Regions from separate parts of the Homo sapiens genome. Here region 1 is linked to region 2. Evidence: promoter capture Hi-C in 16 types of primary human blood cells and fetal thymus (Javierre and others, 2016). All regions are on one chromosome and are shown on one strand. Each heading gives the region's core, a stretch centred on a gene start or on the middle of the fragment in contact. The rest is flanking DNA. Distances are from core to core; before and after follow the strand shown.

Region 1 (3,452 bases), core at 798-3,297, 110 kb before region 2:
GGGGGTACATACCCAATCGGGGAGATGGTTAGAATTATTTGGAAGCCTTTTCAAACTATTCATACCCTTACCAAAAAATTTTTGATATGCACATATCAAAAAACTATCCACCCCAAGATAGTTAAGGATTATTGCATAATATACTGTCGTTACTGATGAAAATCTGTGGTATGCCTTTTATGTGTTAGGTGGAAAAAGAGAACCACTATCTTAGGCAGTCTGACAGGGCCTGTTTCCTCCTGGCCTGTGAATTGCAGGCAGTCCTGAGGGCTAGGAGGAGATTTGATGTTTTTCTCTCCTTTCTCACCTTTGCCTACCTCATATATACTCCCAACCCACGCCTCCTTGCCCCTCCCCTTTCCTTTATTCTCTGCCAGACACCAGCCCGCCTCCAGCACGCAGAGTCTGCCTGCATTGTGAATGGTTGTAGTTGGGACACAGAGAGCCCTTGATGCAGCAAGTGCTTCTTGTGACATCAGCTCTGTGGCTTTAGGGGGAAGGCTGTGGCTCTGGGTCCCCAAGGGAGGGGGCTGTTTTTCTCTTCTTGATCCTTCACGTTGGTGCCCGTCTGACTTATAAACTTTAATGGCCAGTTTTAAAGGTTACTGCCATGGGGCACCTTTGTTGCCAGTTTTAGTTTTTTAATTTGGAAACTTTTTTTTTATCCTTTGTGGTCTTGGGAGGAAAGATTTGGGACCATTTGGGGCTGGGAATTGGTATTTGTGAGTGATGATGAGATAGCACAGCAGCATTCTGGTTCTGGCTCCAATAACCAGAATCCCTGGCATATTATCCAGTTGCCCAAATGAACCCCAAAATGAGAAGGAAAAGACTGGCATTGAGATGTGTAGTCTTAGGCAGCATCAGTCAAGGATGTAGAGGGTTGGGGGCTTGTTGTTCTGTCTGAGAATGGTAACCATAGTTTAGGTGCTGGGGCACTGGAAAAAGAAAGAGATATCTCACTCTTATTCTAAGTCTCTTAACTCTTCTTTCATCTCTAGTCCCAATCCTTTGTTCTGAATATAGATGTCATTGACAGTGGTTAAGTTTAATTGGGATGGGAACAAGGGTTCAGATGTAGAATACACAGGGGAATGTGGCCCATGGTGGTTTCCCCACTGTAGCACAGGTATAGAACTAACAGAGTAAGCTTCACTGAGTCTTTTTGCCATTAACTCTTATACCTTAGAAAAACCTTTTTTTTTTTCCACCCAGGATAACTTCACAAAGCCTCATATGCCAAAAAAGGGTCATTGCCCATCTCAGTAATCTGTATCTCTAGGGGGAAAACAGTATTATAGAATAATACTCAAATAATAGCATCTTGGAATCAGAAGGGATTATTTATAGCACTCTCATAAAACTATCTTATTCAGGTCCTCTGTCTGAAACTAAGAATATGTGGAACTTAAAATGTATTTGGTAAGTGCTAGAAAAGAATTTTTAGAAGTTTAGTTCTGAGCGTGCCTCCTGCCTGGGTACTTTTTTGTGGATGACTAGAGTAGTAACACAAATAAATGGACAGATAATCTAACAAATAGACCCTAGGAAAAGGCAAACACATGAATCCAAGGGTGCTTAGATGCTTGCTCAAAGACATAGGCTCTTTACTTAACTGTTGGCTGGTGTCCTTGATAGCCAAAACCTATCTTTCACTCTCTAGCATTTGGATGGATTAGACTGAACTCAGGATTCAACTCTGGATGAACTTAGAGAATTCAGGAAAGGAGGCTGCTGTGGAAGGACGGACACTCAGCTCTTCAAGATGTGTGGAAGGAGGGCAGAGCCTTCTGACAGTTTTGATACTGTTCACAAGGCATATAATACAGGGTCTTGGATTCAGATCTCACTCCTGGCTGTTCTTCCTGGGCTGGACAAAGCTAGATTTTCTTCTTGTTCCCTGTGTTACAGGGCAGGGGAGGAGGTGTGGGGGTTGGCTCGGGGCTGGGCCACAATTAGTGACCTGGAAGCTGGGCTGGGCACCCAGAAGCTATAAATAGCAGTCATGGCGCAGTCGCTGAGCGGACTCGAAGCCCAGCCAGACTAGCCGCGTTTCAAGTGGTCTGGGTGGGATTTTTTTTTTTTCTCTGTTAACCATTTGTACATCTGGTTTCCTAGTGTTGGTGGGGCAAGGGAGGAGGGTGGGGCTGTAAGCAGAACAAGAAGTTCGTATGTGGAGTAACTTCTTGGTTAGTTTTGCCATATGTATATCTTGGAGCTTCTAGAGCCCTTAGAACCAGTATGGACTCTGGGAGTGAGAATTGTGGCCCTTAGAGGGAGATTAGGCCCCAGAGCAGGGCATGTGGTATGGGAAATACCTGCAGGGCACATGCCACTAATTTAAGGTATGGTGGATGTTCCTGAAGACAGAGAGAGAAGTGGGGTCCATATGGAGCAACTAAGATTATTTGGGAGCAGCCTGGGGCTTCTTATTTCTCCTTACTCTGTGAAACAGTTCCTCTGTCCCCACGATGCCAGTCTGCTTACCTTCTTCCTGATAGACATTGCTGTTTCTTGCTTCTCTGCATTTGTTCCTGTCATCTGCCCTGGGTTTTGAAATCAGAATACTTTGATTTGAATTCCAGTTCTTCCACTTTTTTGATTTGTCACCTGGGCATATTATTATGCTCCCTGGGGTTCATCTGTCAGACGAGCAATTTTGATCAGATACACCCTGAGGTTCCTTCTAGCTTTTGTAAACCATAAATTGGTTTCAATCAATCGATTTCTATTTTTCCTCTTCAGGAAGAAAATTTCACTTCTGCTGGGAAGCCCTCCCTGAATGATCAGTTCAGTTATCTTCCCCTGATTTGACAGATCATTAGCAGTTATATAGCTCATTTATCCTCCTTTCTCTTGCATATATCATATGTTTCTTTGCAGTTATTTTCTTGCTGTTTTCACATACTTACCTTTTTTCTCTTCAAGTAGATTAGAAGCTTGTTGAAGCAGGACACCATATCTTCTATATCGCTCTCTCAGCACTCATTATCAATGTTGTGGGCACCATTGAAGCCCACTCAAGTGTACTAGAAGGCAGGTAGGCCGACTTGGAGTAGAATGGGAAATAGGAAAAAATGAATATTTTTTCAGCAAATGCCAGTTTGAGAGGTGTTTTTGTTAGAGTAAAATGGAAAACAGCAAATGAGAACACAGGTTAGAAATTTCATGCATTTTACCAAACTGTGGGATTCCAGTTCACTGCTTTGCTGACTGTCTGTACTTTTTCTTTTCTCATCTTCTCTTGAAGATGAGCACAGTCTGAATCTGTGGGTTTTTTGGGCACTGTTTAATAACATTGAGTATGGCGCTACATTTTGCATAATGGTAAAAGGGCTTTCTGTTCCAAGCATAGGCTCTTTGTATTAGGTTTCAATAATCCATCTGTTGTAGGCCTCCTTTATGCCTGAAGATGAGGATATAACACTTGTAGATATCTGTGAAAATGTATA
Region 2 (3,341 bases), core at 189-2,688:
TTGCAGGTGGGACTTCCCGCCGGGGCTGCCCTACAGATGATTTATGTCATTGTAGGGATTCCCTAGGCCCCACCCAGTCCCTTCTGCGCCCTCTCATCACTTCCCTACCTTTCTCTAAACTTGGCCCTGAGATGCCTACTACATCGCCTGGGTTTGAATCCCACCCCTTAAACCAGCAGCATATTTGGCAACTTGGAATCTTTTAGCCACACTTGGAACGTCCGTAACATTGAAACAAGAATGCCCCATAGTGTAGTGGATGAGGGGAGTCGAATGGGAATCTCCGTAGAGCTCGCGGCACAATGTACCGCACGGACAGGCGAGCGAGGAGGCGCGCGGGCACTGCGGCCGCCCTCATGCTAGCCCCCGCCCCCTCGCAGGCTCCCGGCCTTCGCCAACCTGCAGGAGGCGCTGCTGGAGAACATGATCCAGAACATCCTGGTGGAGGCGAGCCGCGGGGAGGTGGTACTCACCTCGCGGCCACGCGTCATCGCCCTGCCGCCGTTCTGCGTGCCCAGGTAAGGGCGCCGGGACCAGCGGCCGCGCAGACCGCGCGAGAGGGGCCACGGGGGCAGCCAGGCTCTGCCCGAAGCCTCGCCCCCACGCCTACCTGGGACTTTTTGTCTTCCAGGAGTCTGACCCCGGACACGCTGCTGCCGACGCAGCAAGCAGAGGTACTCCACCCGGTGGTGCCACTTCCTACCGACCTTCCGTAAATGCCCGCGCCCAGCCTCTCCGACATGCCGCTAGGGGTCACGCCTGGCCCCCTCTCCACCGCCAGTAAAAGCATCTAGTCTTTTTTCTGTATCTACCTTGACTTTATTTCCCCGACGAGGGGGAACGCGCGCGCGAGCTCTGAGAGGGAAGGATGGCAGGGAGCAGCCCGGGCGGACTGCAGAGGCGCGGCGGGAACTTAGGGCCCGGGAGGATGCACCTCTCCGCCCACACTGCAGCTGGACTGAGACCTGGCCGCTAGCTGCCGGCCGCTGGACCGGGTCTGGCCAGTGGAGGGCGCTCCGGACGGGGCCTGGCTGGCCTTTGCCCCAGCGCACCTTGGTGCACAGTAACTGAGTGCCAGGCCTGGCCAGCGAAGCAGGTGTCCACTGGGCAGGGCGGCCACCCCTCACCTTTCCGCGCCGCGCCTGCTCGGAGGCTTAGCACCCCCAGGGCCAGCCCCTTAGCATTTGCCGAGCTCCGAGTGCCCAAGAGGCTGGGGAGGAAGAACTGAGGCACGCCGCGGAGGGCCAGGAACTAGGCTGGGGCGGGTCGAGGTCACCACTGGATTTCGGGCCACAGACCCTGCTAAGCGACTCCCACTGTGAATCAGTCCTCAGACGAGGATGGATACCCACCTCTCGGTTCCTCCTAACCCCCGCCCGGGAGCTTCTGTCCTCTGCTTCTCGGCTCCTCCCTCCCAGAGGCAGGTGGGTGGAAAAGTGACATCTGGTGTTGTTCCAGAGGCGCCCAGGGTCCCCAGCACCCTCCCCTCCGCCCCCGCCACCAAGGCCTCGGAGAAGCTCCGGTCTCAGAGCCCGGGCGGGGGAGGGGGGAGCGCTCCGCCTCCATGAGTCAATATTTGCCCCGAGCAAACGGGCGCCTGGACAGGTGTGAGTGTGTGTGTCTGGGGGCGGGGACTGAACAGGCAGTATAAGAGCACACGGAGCCCGGGCTCCGGGACAAGCTCCAAGGCGTGGGCTGGGGACGAAGCCAAGCTAGGCTGGGCCGGGCGGAGGGGCCAGGAAAGCCGGGCGGAGGGTGGCTGGGAAAGGAGGGGCGGGCCAGGTGCGCACCTGCGGTGGCCGCCGCGGCCGCCGACGTGTCAGCCGCAGATGCGTTCAGGTGAGGGCGGAGGCTAGCGGGGCGCTGTGCAGCACTGAGCTCGCGGAAGACCAGGACCAGGAGATCACCGAGGGCGACCGCCAGGCCCCGGGCCCTCCGCTCCCGCCCCGCGACGAGCCCCTCGCACAAACCGGACCTGAGCGTTTTGTTCGTTCGGCTCGCGTGAGGCAGGGGCGGCCTCTCAGCACCAGCCCGGGGGCCGGCCTGATCGCCACGCAGGCACCTGCCGCCGCCACCGCCACCGCCATCTCAACCGTACGGGTGGGAGAGGCTGTGCGCCGCTCCAGGGGAGATCCGGCTCCCATCCGGCCCCACCCGCCCTGCCTTGCCCTGCCCGCAGCTTCTGGGCTGCCAGGCTCCATTCTGCGTCGTAATACGGGCTGAGCCGGCTCCAGCGGGTGGCGAAGGGGGCCGTGGCCCAGAACAGAAACCCTTCTGGAGGTGGAAACCCGGATTCTAGTCCGCCTCTGTCCCCGCGACTTCTATGGCCTTGGGCAAGTCATTTCCCGGCCTCTTGGTTTTCCCATTTGCTCAGTGAACGGTTGGTCTGGCCTCCCGCAGGGGCTAGGCCCTCCCCAGCCTCCTGTCCCGGTTCCTGGGCTCCTGGTCATGCTGGGGAAGATGCAGGCCCTCACGGAGTTGGAGCCAAGGCTGAGGTGTGGAAAATCTGGGCGGGGGAAGCTGAGGGCCACCATGGAGCCTCAAATCCACTCCTCGGATCTCTGTGGTGCTGCTGACATCCTGAGATGTCACTCCCTGACACTCCCTTGGTCCCTCTTTCAGTCTAAAAACGTCTGAGACAGTCAGACTGACTGAAAAGGACAAGCCCCCAGGCACAGCGGTTCACCACCTTCCTCAAACCTCAGAATCCCACATCCTCGCTTCCATCAGCTGGGGTGGGGTAGGTAGGTGGCCCTCAGCTCAGGCAGAGGCAGCCCCGGGAGATGGGAACCAGGGTCAGAAGTCCCTCCAAACTGCATGTTCCTAGAGGTGCTGGATTGTCCCCTCCACCACCACCCGCTCTAGTGCCCCTATGTCACCCAACTACCCAGAGGCCCCAAAGGATCTGCTGAGCCCGAGTCCGTGGCACAGAGAGAGAAGGGGGAGGGGCGAGATGGCGTTGGACAGATCCCAGGCAGGTTTAGGGAGAGGGTGGACTACAGCAGGGCTCTTCGTGGAGCAGCCCCAGGGGCAGGGGAAGGTCCTTGGGTCCTGGGCTAGGGTGTGTGCAGCCCTCTCCTGGCCCCCCTGACCAGGCTCTGTCCTGGGCCAGCCCTTTACTCTGCCTGGCACTGAAAGATTTGCCTGTCAGGGGCCTGGCATGGTCCTGGTGCACCTTCCCTGTGTCTTTGAGGGCTTCCCCTTCCCTCCCCAACCATGTCAGGGGCCAGGATTCCACATCCTGGGTTTGCACAACAAAGAGATCTCTGCTTGGAATGACCCCCTCCCAAACACACACACACACACACACACACACACACACACAGCCTTGAGGGGAGGGT

The links. Contacts are between HindIII fragments. The CHiCAGO score rates a contact against its expected background, and 5 or more counts as called.
Region 1: a fragment that was not itself captured here is called in contact with the fragment with the promoter of CFAP65-AS1 in region 2 in 3 of 17 cell types (endothelial precursors, M1 macrophages and M0 macrophages); the score reaches 6.9 in endothelial precursors.

The regions. Positions count from the first base shown.
Region 1 is chr2:219,106,569-219,110,020 of GRCh38, reverse strand. All of the region lies in intron 5 of NHEJ1 (non-homologous end joining factor 1), which reads left to right. Among named protein-coding and RNA genes, the nearest start is that of IHH, 47 kb to the right of the region's middle. The HindIII fragment of the contact is 1,789 bases long and covers 1,153-2,941 here.
Region 2 is chr2:219,000,312-219,003,652 of GRCh38, reverse strand. CFAP65-AS1 (CFAP65 antisense RNA 1) reads right to left here and starts at 1,438. Exons shown (of 3, transcript NR_046086.1): 1 at 1,353-1,438. CFAP65 (cilia and flagella associated protein 65) reads left to right here. Exons shown (of 35, transcript NM_194302.4): 34 at 381-518; 35 at 632-807. The coding sequence ends at 716. MIR375 (microRNA 375) reads left to right here and starts at 1,945; the gene lies at 1,945-2,008. RefSeq lists enhancers at 1,372-1,666, 3,109-3,341. The HindIII fragment of the contact is 13,795 bases long and covers 1-3,341 here.